3 separate regions of the Homo sapiens genome follow, and all the other regions are linked to region 2. Evidence: promoter capture Hi-C in 16 types of primary human blood cells and fetal thymus (Javierre and others, 2016). All regions are on one chromosome and are shown on one strand. Each heading gives the region's core, a stretch centred on a gene start or on the middle of the fragment in contact. The rest is flanking DNA. Distances are from core to core; before and after follow the strand shown. Region 1 overlaps SLX4IP (SLX4 interacting protein). Region 2 holds the start of ANKEF1 (ankyrin repeat and EF-hand domain containing 1). Region 3 overlaps SLX4IP (SLX4 interacting protein).

Region 1 (3,888 bases), core at 172-2,671, 520 kb before region 2:
AATTAAAAGCAATTATCACAGAAAAGGGTGGCTTTTTGTTTTTTCACCACTGTCAATAGTTTCTTCGCCATATACTATATTTTAACAAATCTGATTTTTATTTCTCAGTCTAAAAAGCAACTGTGGTAAATGGACATCACGGATAATGATATTTTTAAAGGTGTGTAAAAGCCACAAGCTGGTTACTCCTGCTCTCTGGTGAGCAGGGATCAGAGAAGGAGGCAAAGCAATGGTGAGAGCTCAGTGCAGCTTGTAAGCCTCCACCACAAGCAGCACTTGGGTGGGATTGTTGAAACTTAGAACCAGGAGTGAATTTGGCATCTAGGCAAACCTCTTCACTTTCAGATGAGGAGGCTGAGGCTCAGTGAAGTCCAGCATCATGCTCTGCTAAGCCCCCGGCTACTGGCTTTCCTGACTGACCATTGTGAGAAGGAACACCGTCAAGTATTTCCTGACTTGTCAAAGGCTCATGATAATACAAGGATGATAGAAAATAAAAGCTGAGGCTTTAAGATGGGTGTGAAGGTTCAGCCTTGTGTTAACTGCCACACCTGCTTCAGGTGCTCAGGCCATCCTTCACAACCAGTCAGGTTAAAATCCCTGATTACTGAAATAGTCACTTTAACTTCTTCTTCTTCTTCTCCTCTTTTTGAATATATAGAAATCCTTCCCCCAAAACAAAGAGGTATAAAATGTCTGGTTTAAATAATACAGTATCATATGAAGTTTATGAATGTGTCAGTTTCTGAAGGAAAAAAAAAGTGGGTGCATATGTGTCTGTCATTGGGAATACAATTGTTTTTCAAGGATTAAATACGCAACATTTTTTTCCCACTAACAGAAATGAAAGCTGGAAAGAGCTGATATTTCTTATAGCAGCAGCAGCTACTTGCAATTAAATAGTAGAAAGTTTTGTTGTACCTCTTTCTTCTGTTCAGAAAACCAGCTTGTATCTTTGTTTGAACCTTGTGGCAAGATATGAAGATCCACGAGGACAGCAAAATTCCCACACTGAAAGACATTAATGGCAGAGTCAGTGTCTGTGCGGCTCATGCCCAGCAAACAATGAGAGAAAATCTCACAAATTCCTATGTGGTTGCTCATGATGAAATGGCAACAAAGTTCACTACTAGACAGAACTTTTAATAAAGAACATGGTTACAGGTCATAATCTACTACTTTCCCTAAGTTTAACATTTACAGTGGAAATGCTAAGGAGAGATGCAATGTTAATCAAGACAGGAAAGACAAAATATCTGTCTCTGGGCTGCACCTTGAAAGGGGATGTCCAAGCATCCCGGCAGCAGTTGGAAGACGTGAAGCATCGAGAGAAGTTAAATAGGTCAGTACTAGGTAGGCTCCACAAAAGAATGATTCCATGCACAGCCAGGGGAATTCTTTCTTCTAAGCAGCAAATAACAGATATAAGATACTGCATTTTTAGACGGACAAAAGGATTGGCTAGGACGGTACACTTTGGAATTGAAATAGGAACATGGAAGAATGAGAAATAAGCAAGAAGATAAAGATACATACTGAATGCTAGTTAACAAAACAAAACAAAATTCATTAAAGTATGCTACAAAACTGTACAAAGCCTGACTCTGTTCTTATTCTATAGGCTAGCGCTGTCCAGCACTTTAGAAAATAATGGAAATATTCTATATATATGCTGTTCAATAAGATAGCCATATGTGGCCGTATGTGGCCATATGTGGCTGCTGAGCACTTAAAATGTGGCTATTGTAACTGATAAGCTACATTTTTAATAAAATTTAAATTAAATTTAAGTAGCTACATGTAGCTAGTGGTTCCATACTGGATAGCACAGTTACAGACCCTGTGAAAAGTTGTTGCCTTATAAATCCTCACATATGAGTGAAGTAATTTCTGAGAATCACAAGATAACTGTGAACAAACTAATTTGGTAAGGAATGGGACACCAAGGTTGGGGATGGTCTGAGAGACCCAGAGATTCGGTTTATGAGACTCAGAGGTTCAGTTTTTTCACTTCCTTGGCTGGACAGTTTTGTTTTTTTTTTTTTAAATTCTGTCCTATATATCAACAGTGAAAGGAAAGTAGTTTCAACAAATGGTTAGACCATCAGATGTAAATATAAAGTGAAACTTGACACCTACCTCACGCTATATACAAAATTTAATTTGAGATGGATCACACACCTAGACAAAAAAGCCAAAACTATCTTCCTGATCTTTGGAATAGGAAAAGATTTCTTAGGATCCAGAAAGCACCAAATATTGAGAAAAATAGTTGTAAAATTGTTAAATTTTCAAAATTAAAAATTTCTGTTAACGAAAAAAGCACCACTAATAAAATAAATAGGTATGTTACAGACTGGGAGAAATGTATTTATGTATTCAAAAATACATGTATCTGGCAAAAAGGACTGGTACCCAAAATATGTAAAGAACTCCTACAAACTGATATTTTTAAAAAAAGCAAAACAAAAAACCTGAGTTTGAATAGACACTTCACAAATAGGATAAATGAATGGCTAATAAGAAAATGAAAAAAGTGTTCAATATCATTAGTCATCAGGCAAATTAAAATTAAAACCACCAAGAGATACAACTACAATACCCACCAGAATGACTACAGTTAAAAAGACTGACATAACATGAAATGTTGGTAAGGATATGGAACAACCCAGACTCTCATACTTTCCCAGTGGAAATGTAAGATGGTCTAACCACTCTGGCAAATGGGTTTGTCAGTTTCCTGTAGCTAAACGTACATTTACTTATCAACTGAGCCAATGATTCCTTCCCAGGTGTTTACTCAAGAGAGATGAAGTATATGTGCACACAAAGACTTGTATGCAAATATTCATGGAAGTTTTATTTATAATAACCCAACGTGAAGACAACCCAAAAGTCTACAACAAGAGAACAAATTGTGCCATATTCATGCAAGGGAACACTACTCACCACACTACCGATAGACTCAACATGTATTCATCTCAAAAACATTAGGTTGAGCAAAAGAAACCAGACCAAAATAACATATACTGTATGGTTCCATCTATATATAATTCTAAAACAGCAAAATCAACGTGTGATGAAAGGAATCAAAACAGTAATTTCCCAGGGGGGTAAAAAACTGGGTGAGAACTGTCACAAAGGAACTTTGTATGTGATAAGACTATTCTGTATCTTGATGGGGTATGTTATGTATACACTGCAATCAGTTCCTTTCACTATATTTAAATTATACATCAATAATAAACAATTTTTAAACACTGTGTAAAATGCACTCATACTTGTTGGCAGTTATTTAAAATGTAGGTATTACGTCCCTGAAAATGTGTGGGAGACCCAAATGAAGTTTACCAGGTAATAAACTGTGAAGCATGTTGAAAGATGGTTTCCTACGATGTAAAAGAGTGCACTTTAGTGTGTTACAGTTTAGTGTGTTGCAACCAGCATTTTATTTTAATGAAAGAGAACTGAAGATAATATTAGAATGCAATACAAAATATCAATGTGTCATATGGTTAGATCAAGAATTGTTTTGTGAAATGTAAGTAAGTGTGTACTCAGTTATGATGGAAAGCCTATTTCTTATTGTGGGTTGTAATAAAAAATGTTTGAAAACCACTCAAGTATACTGTTAAAGTCCTTCTCAACTGTTGGTTACAGAATTTAACCTTTAAGGAGTATGCTGCCACCAGGTGGAGGTCGCATGCCACAACTACAGGATCTTAGCCACGGAATATTAACCTTTCCTGTGCCATGGACTTATTTAGCCAACTGTGAAGCTGATGAAAGTTGCTCAGAATAATATTTTTAAATGCATGAAACACAACACATAGGATTAACAAGAAAACCAATTACACTGAAGTACAGTTATCTTAACGAAAGAAAAAT
Region 2 (3,950 bases), core at 1,004-3,503:
GAAGCCATCTACCACTTTGTGGGTAAATACATCTTCTCCCCCGTCACCTTATTTTGGTATAAGCTAGTTAGCTAAGTTTCCAACATTTGCAATGAAAAGATTCCATCTTACTACAAAAGTTGAAACTATGCACCATTTTTCTCCATCGCAAGCCTGCTCCCTCACCTACATTCTCTACGGCAGTGAGCTCTCTCTCCTTTAAATGTGTCTCTCTAGGCACCACAACATCTCCATCGCCTGCTTCCATCCAACACCAATGCCCCCTCCTGCTCAGGCTCCTTTGCTGACTCCCCATTTCAAGAAGCCTATGTTGGGTGCCCAGGGCTAGGTCCTCAAGACTCTTTTCTGTCCTCACACACTCCCCTGGTGTCTCGCCCTATCCCATGACCCTCGACCCTCAGCCCAACTCTCACTCTGTCACCCAGGCTGGAGTGTAGTGGCACAATCTCGGCTCACTGCAACCTCCACCTCCTGGGTTCAAGCGATTCTCCTGCCTCAGCCTCCCGAGTAGCTGGGATTACAGGTGCCCACCACCACACCTGGCTAATTTTTGTATTTTTAGTAAAGACAGGGTTTCACCATGTTGGCCAGGCTGATCTTGAACTCTTGACCTCAGGTGATCCACCCGCCTCAGCCTCCCAAAGTGTTGGGACTACAGGCGTGAGCCACCGGGCCAGGCCTCCTTTGCCTTTTAATCTGTTTATAACATGCGGTGGACTAGGGAACCAACTGAGGCTGCCTCAGAGTCATCCACTTGGACTTTGCTGCACGGCTTGGTGACACTCACCTTAGCTGCTATTTATGGCTTGTTTTATTATTATCGGCCATATTCCGATTAGGTGCGGTGTCATCATACTGCATATGTATATGTGTCATCTATGGAATAGGGCAAGATGCTCCTACATAGGTAATGATTAGACTGAATCAATGCCACTTGATTTGTGAAAATAAGGATTTCCCAATCAGGGACTTCAATGTTGCCTCTGTTAGCACCCATCTCTAACGGAGAATTAATTAGCAGCTACAGTGATGAATTCAGTAGGTCCATGGGTCGGTTTCCTGTGGACTGCCTCCCTCCCAGCTAAAGCCCTGAAGTGCTGGGGAGAGGGCAGCACCCTGTATAGTGTCCTTCACAATCAACTGCTAAGACTGACCAAGAGCTCACCCCACTGCAGGAAATCACACAAGTGTAGCCCTTGGGTCCTGGGTTCCTTGTAAATTGAGCAGCATATAGGATCCTCCACATACAAGCACACCTGTACTTTTCCCCAGCATGACCCTGGGCCACCTTAGTCACATCTAACCATCTACCAAGGTAGTGGAATAGAGCAGAATGTCTTGACTTGAGGTCCATGTTCGGGGTCTGAATACTCGGAAATTACATGAAAATCTGTGGGAATCTGTGTGTGTTCAGGTCATTTAACTCTCAAAGGGGGGCTGTGCGACAAGGAAGGATCATTAGAAAGAGGAATGGAGGAAGACAAGCTTGGTACAGTGGAATGTAGGGTTTGAGGTGGGGAAATCCGTTGTGATCCTCCCTTCCCTGTATCATTATTTACACAAACTAGTTGGATATAAATATGGATATGCTACCTACCTAGTTTTTACCTCAGTTTCTGCATCTGTGAACTGGCAATAGCAATGGTGCCCACTTCATGGGACTGTGTGAAAAGGAAATGAGATATGATCCTTGTAAAACATTTAGCAAAGTCCTTCAATATAGGCTCCTTATGAATACACCAAACTTTTGCGGGTTTCAGCTCACCCACAAGTGTAAGCGATAGTTTACATGTTGGGGGTTCTCTACTGTGCTTTCCACTTTTTAGTCTCCAGAAAAATCTGGAGAAGAGAGGAGTGGAGGGGGTAGAGATGTAACGTCAAAGGAAAAGCCATGTGTCATGCTCACCTCTTAGTCTTCCGGGCGATCAGAAGCCAGGGATCTCTGGGCACCTATGTGCCTGGGCCTGCTGGGGCGACCGGGGAGGCCCCTGCTCTCGTCCTCTGACGCTCAGCGCTGGCCCAGCCGCGACCTTGGGCTCCCGGAGCCCGGCGGAGGCGCCCAGGCGTGAATGATGTCCCTTGGGTAGGGCTGGTGAGCTGGCGCGCGGGACAGCAGGGCTGGGTGTATGTGTCCATGGGCCCCGGGTCCCCGGAAGGCGAGCGCGCGGGCAGGTGAGCGCAGGGGGCGGGGTGGAAGCCGGAGGGACCGGGCTGATTGTGAGCTTCCGCCACGCAGGGCGCGGCTGCCGGGGCAACCGCAGCGTGCGCGGTGGGGCGGTGCTCGCCTCCGCCTCCGCCTCCGCCTCCGCCTCCGCCTCCGCCTCCGCCTCCGCCTCCGCCCCCGCCCCCGCCTCCGCCTCCGCCCCTCGCGCCTGGCTTCGACGCCAGGTGGCCGGCCTGGGCGGGATGGGGTAGCTGCGCTGGGTGTTCCAGGGCGGAGCGCAGAATGCTGCTGTCTTGAGGATTCCGCCCTTCTCTCATTCTCTTCTCCCACCTCCTGCCCTGGGTCAGAACGTAATTTAGTTATAAAATTAAAGCTGCATATGGCAATTAAAAAATGAAGTAAAATATACAATAAATATTTAGTTTACAAAGTACAATTAAATGAAAAATACAATAAATTACACAATAAAGCGAAAGTGAACCTACTCTCAACTGCCACAGATTCTTGCAAATCTTCCCAGAAATTTTCTTTCCATACTCTAGGATGCATATATGCTTAAAAAATATTTATACACAAATGGAAGCAAATATGGAGATCACTTTATTTCAGGGCCTACAAATGCACCATAACACCCCTCTCTCTCCCTCCACACATGCTTTTTGGCGGAAAATTCTGAAAGCTTTGGTTTGATTATGTGAATGTAAAACATATATATGTGTGTCTATATATATATGCTTTTTAATGCAGTATGTAATTGCTTCCAATTAAAAACAGTAATTCCTTACACCAGCCTACCCTATTCTACTCAGAGACTGTTTAAAAATGTTAAGAGCGAAGACATGGAATCAACCTAAGTGCTCATCAATGATAGACTGGCTAAAGATAATGCGGTACATATACACCATGGAATACTATGCAACCATATAAAGGAACAAAATTATGTCTTTTGCAGGAATATGGAGCTGGAGGCAATTATCCTTGGCAAGCTAACGCAGAAACAGAAAACCCAATACTGCATGTTCTCACTTATGAGTGAGAGCTAAGTGATGAGAACACATGGACACATAGAGGGGAACAGCACACACTGGGGCCTATTGGAGGGTAGAAGGTGGAGAGTGGGAGGAGGGAGAGGATCAAGAGAAATAACTAATGGGTACTAATCTTAATACCTGGGTGAGAAAATAATTTGTGCAACAAAACCACATGACACAAGTTTACCTATATAACAAATCTGCACATGTACCCCTGAACTTAAACGTCAAATAAAAAATAATAAAAATGTTATTAAGGACTATTTCATGCACACCAAAATATACTGTATGATATATGGAAAGTACATACCATACCATACCATAGCTAAAGAAATACCATAGCTAAAGAAAAAGAAAGCTAGGAAAAATAAAGGAAAAAGGAAAAGGAAAAAAAAGTCTGCCTCTACTGCTGTACTTATATGTATTTCTTCCCAACACTGCATCCTCCTCTTCCTGTTCCCAGAGATAATACCTGTTCTGAATTTTACATTTATCATCCCAGCCTCTTAAAAATGCATTGCTACATTGAATGCCTCCCTAAATAATGCATGTTTAATATTGCATATTTTGAGAATTTATAAAAATGTGGTAGAATGTTGTGTATTGTTTTGATGACTTTTTTCCTTTCAACGTCTTGTTTTTGAAATGTATCTTTGTTGGTATGTTTAATTGGAGTTCCTTTATCTAAACAGCTGTAGGCTATTCCATTATATTACCATTCCACACCCCTTTCAAATCAATTCCACTATTGATAG
Region 3 (4,428 bases), core at 1,262-3,761, 540 kb before region 2:
ATTTAAAATCATGTTTGCACTGGCTAGGTTAAAAAAGATTCTTGATCCTAACTAGTAAATGCCAGCTTTGACCCTGCTGGGAAGAAAAAAAAAATAGTTCCATTAAAAGAATGAGAAGACAATTTCAAATTTACTATAAAGCTACAGTAATCAAGACAGTGCAGTATTGGCATATGGAAACACATGTAGAAACAGAATTGAGGCCAGGCACGGTGGCTCACGCCTGTAATCCCAACACTTTGGGAGGTCAAGGCGGGTGGATCACATGAGGTCAGGAGTTCGAGACCAGCTTGGCCAACATGGTGAAACCCCATCTCCACTAAAAATACAAAAATTAGCTGGGCATGGTGGCGGATGCCTTAATCCCAGCTACTCAGGAGGCTGAGGTGGAGAATCGGTTGAACCTGGGAGGCGGAGGTTGCAGCGAGCCGAGATCACACCACTGCACTCCAGCCTGGGCGACAGAGAGAGACTCTGTCTGAAAAAAGAAAAAAAAGAAAAAAGAAAAGAAAAAAAAGAAACAGAATTGAGAGTCCAGAAATAAACACTCACATTTATTGTCAACTGATTTTCAACAAAGGTGCCAAGAAAATTAAATGAGGATAGAATAGTCTTTTCAACAAAAGGTACTTGGACAACTGGATATCCACATGCAAAAGAATAAAGTTGGACCCCTAACTCATGTCATATATGAAATTAACTCAAAATGCATCAAAGACCTGAATGTAAGAGCTAAAACTATAAAACTCCTTAAAAAATAGATGTACATTTTTATTACCTTGGATAGGGCAATGGTTTCTTAGATATGATATCAAAAGCACAACAACAACAACATAGATGAATTGGACATCATTAAAATTAAAAACTTTTGGGTATCAAAGGCCACCATCAAGAAAATGAAAAGAAAATCCACAGAAGAGAAGAAAAATGTTATAAATCATATAGCTGATAAGGGACTTATATCTAGAATGTTTAAAAGAATTCCCATAACTCAATAAAAAGACTAATAACCCAATTAAAAATGGGTTCAAATCCTGAACAAACATTTATCCACAGAAGATATACAAACGGCCAGTAAGTACTTGAATAGATGGTAACATTATTAGTCATCAGGGAAATGGAATCAAAACCACAATGAGATAACACTTCATACACACAGGACAGCTATAGTCAAAAAGACAAACAGGTGTGGCTAAGGATGTGGAGAAAATAGAAGCCTCATACACTGCTGGCAGGAACAGAAAATGCTGCAGCTACTTGGAAAACAGTCTGGAAGTTCGTCAATATGTTAAACATACAGGTACAGAATGACCCAGAAATTCCATTCGTAGGTATATAGCCATGAGAAATGAAAACATATGTCCACTCAAAAACTTGTACACGAATACCCATAGTAGCATTATTCATCATAGCCAAATGTGGTTAACAACCCAAATGTCCATCAATTGATGAATGGACAAAATATGATAGATCCATACCATGGAACATTATTTGTAATAAAATGAAATAAAGTACTACTGATATGTGTTATAAAATGAACGAATCTTGAAAACATTATGCTGAGTGAAAGAAGCCAGTTACAGAGAACCACATGGTGTATGACTCTATTTGTATGAAATGTCCAGAACAGGCAAATCCATAGAGACAGAAAGTAAGCTGGTGGTTGGTTGTCTGTGGCTGGGGTATTGGGGAAAATGAAGAGTAACTGCTAATGGGTAAAGGGTTTCTTTTGGAGTGATGAAAATGTTCTCAAATTGATTCTGGTGATGGTTACACAACTCTGAATACATAAAAACCATTGAACAGTATACTTTAAACAGGTGAATTGTATATGAATTATATCTCAATAAAGCTGTTATTAAAAAAATGAGAAGTATTCTTCAGCTAAATGGATTGTTGACAACTGTGTTCCTCATTTTTAAATCTCTCAACTAAATAGTTAGGAAGAATGAGGCTTTCCTGTAAGTGAAAATGTCTGAGATTTAAAAAACGAGATATATAATTATTCCACCACACTGGTAAACAACAAGAGGCTACAATGGAAATATGGAAACAATGTTTCTCATCATTTTGACTGATTCAGCAAATCAATCTATGAGTATTTGATGGTGAATTCTATAATTTTCCAACAGTAGGCTTCCTGGCCCTACAGTCATCCTAATTAAGCTTCATTGTTGTCATTCATTCATTTCTTATTATCATTAAAGAGACAGGGTCTTTCTCTGTTGCCTCAGCTGGAGTACAGTGGTATGATCATAGATCACGGCAGCCTCGAATTCCTGGGCTCAAGCCATTCTCCTGCCTCAGCCTCCTGAGCAGCTAGGACTAGAGGTACGTGCTGTCACACCCAACTAATTTATTTTTATGTTTTTTTGTAGAGACAGAACCTTGTTATGTTGCCCAGGTAGATCTTGAACTTCTGGTCTCAAGCAATCCTTCTGCCTTGGTCTCCAAAGTGTTGGGATTAAAAGAGTGAGCCATCATGCCAGGCCTTATTGTTATCTTTCAGTTCATTAGAATACTATATAGTACTACAGCCTTCCTAAGTTTACTCAGCCTAATTTTCACTTTTATAAAAAGCTAGAGGAAAAAAAGATTGAATAAGCTAAAAATGAAGGGGGGAAAGCATGAAAAACCCTCATCATAAGGGCATTATTTATAAATTCTGTACACTTTTGTTATGAAAACACTAGTATTTTACTAAAATAAGGGTAAACTTAAACAATACAAAAATCTCAGTCTTCTAGAAGTTCACACTACCTTGAAGGGCAACCAAGAAGCTGTTTTATTTTCAAATATATCTAATAAGGATTTGTTAAGTTTTTAAAAAATATTTTCTATTTAAGTGAAGCTTTTGCAAATCATTCTTGTAAATAATGAGAATTTCTTCCCCGCAGAGGAATACTTTCTATTTCAGTGTTTCTAAGAATACACAGGGTTAAAACTGTGTAAAATATATTTTCTCACAGTTGGGGGAGAAAAAAAACACCGCAAATAGGAAACCAGACAGCTAGGGGGGTCAAAACACTACACTTCCAGGTCAGACTTCTGGTTGCAATTAAGTAAAATTCCTGAAAATATTTGTAAGGAAATCATATTTTTGGTGTCCCCTTTCAGGTCTTATAACTTTTATTTTCTTTAGCAGCAACTTATATTGTGGGTATATACTTATCTATTCATTCATTACATACACACACACAAACACACAAATATACACATTTACTTGGACACATACATTAATCTATGACCCAGAATTGAAATTCAATCTTGGCCTAAAACTTAAAACTAGCATCTTTTCCAGGCATTCATTTTTTATGCGTGAGATCATGTGGAGTTAGTTTTGTTTTTGCTTAATGTAGGCATGGATAATTTTCTCAAGACATTTCACAAAACAGATCAGGCCAAGTTTCCCATTAGGTTATGTGGTTCATGATCAAATAATTAAAATAAATGTGAATCTGATTGGAGTTTATGCTCTAAGTAATAAGGGCATTGTGGTACAACAACAAATATAAACAAGCTATACAATTAGGTGTACCTGAACAGTTATTCACCATGCCTCTACTCAACTCCCTGGGAACAGCCCAGGGATTCTTAATGCTTCACAAATAAGCACCTCACTCTGAATCTGTGGCAAATTCACTTAGAGACAGTATAAATGTCTATCGTACCAAAGGGAGTCAATTCCCCTGCCCAGTTTATAGAAGGTATTATAATGAATATAAAATTATTTTGATCATGAACAACTGAAGTGGTTAACTAAAATATTTAGTAACCATAAAACTTCACAATTGTAGGTTATCCACTTTTATTCCAAATAATTAGAATAATTAGGGTGTCATGTTAGGGAATTTGAAAATGAAAGCTCTCTTGTTTTTAATCAACACTTGGGTTAGAATCCCCCAAATTCCCAAGATATTCAGGTAGCAAATCACGGTCCCAATGTGTTAGACCACAGTGTACTATCCTAAACAAGGCCTCTTCACTCATCCTTCAAACACTTCAAAATCAAAGGGCTCTTACTGATATTTAGTCGGTAAGATAACTAGTATCCATTTTCTCCTTCCAGCTTCCTTATGGGTGTTAATATTAGGAATGTGAAACTCAATTACTAGAAATTTGAAAATCCGGGCATTATGATGGGAGGTCCTGGCCAAAGGAAAAAAAAAAAATTAAAAGGAACAGACAAGCTGGTGAATGCTACAAGTACTTCCTAGATAAGAGAAGGCTTTTCATTGCTAAGGTGTAATGGACCTGAAATTCTTGAGAAACAAACAGTACATGCTAAGGTAAACAGTTCCCACTATACCTTGTCATCCTACATATTAAAAATATGTATGTTACTCCTATGAGAAGCAGCCACTGTTATATTGGGGGTGGGGGGTAGGGAGAGCTTTCCTGATTATTATTATCTGTCAAACACAGGAG

What was found. Contacts are between HindIII fragments. The CHiCAGO score rates a contact against its expected background, and 5 or more counts as called.
Region 1: a contact is called between a fragment that was not itself captured here and the fragment with the promoter of ANKEF1 in region 2, in 3 of 17 cell types (naive CD8 T cells, total CD8 T cells and total CD4 T cells). The highest score is 7.7, in naive CD8 T cells.
Region 3: a contact is called between a fragment that was not itself captured here and the fragment with the promoter of ANKEF1 in region 2, in 2 of 17 cell types (non-activated CD4 T cells and naive CD8 T cells). The highest score is 5.4, in non-activated CD4 T cells.

What each region holds. Positions count from the first base shown.
Region 1 is chr20:10,553,354-10,557,241 of GRCh38, reverse strand. It overlaps SLX4IP (SLX4 interacting protein), which reads right to left. Exons shown (of 8, transcript NM_001009608.3): 3 at 922-1,011. Among named protein-coding and RNA genes, the nearest start is that of MIR6870, 94 kb to the left of the region's middle. The HindIII fragment of the contact is 6,035 bases long and covers 1-3,888 here.
Region 2 is chr20:10,033,290-10,037,239 of GRCh38, reverse strand. It overlaps ANKEF1 (ankyrin repeat and EF-hand domain containing 1), which reads right to left and starts at 2,253. Exons shown (of 11, transcript NM_022096.6): 1 at 1,907-2,253; 2 at 1,598-1,661. The region is part of intron 3 of SNAP25-AS1 (SNAP25 antisense RNA 1); the gene reads left to right. RefSeq lists a silencer at 1,913-2,462. The HindIII fragment of the contact is 1,358 bases long and covers 1,488-2,845 here.
Region 3 is chr20:10,575,499-10,579,926 of GRCh38, reverse strand. All of the region lies in intron 4 of SLX4IP (SLX4 interacting protein), which reads right to left. Among named protein-coding and RNA genes, the nearest start is that of MIR6870, 72 kb to the left of the region's middle. RefSeq lists silencers at 1,099-1,299, 1,032-1,326. The HindIII fragment of the contact is 685 bases long and covers 2,169-2,853 here.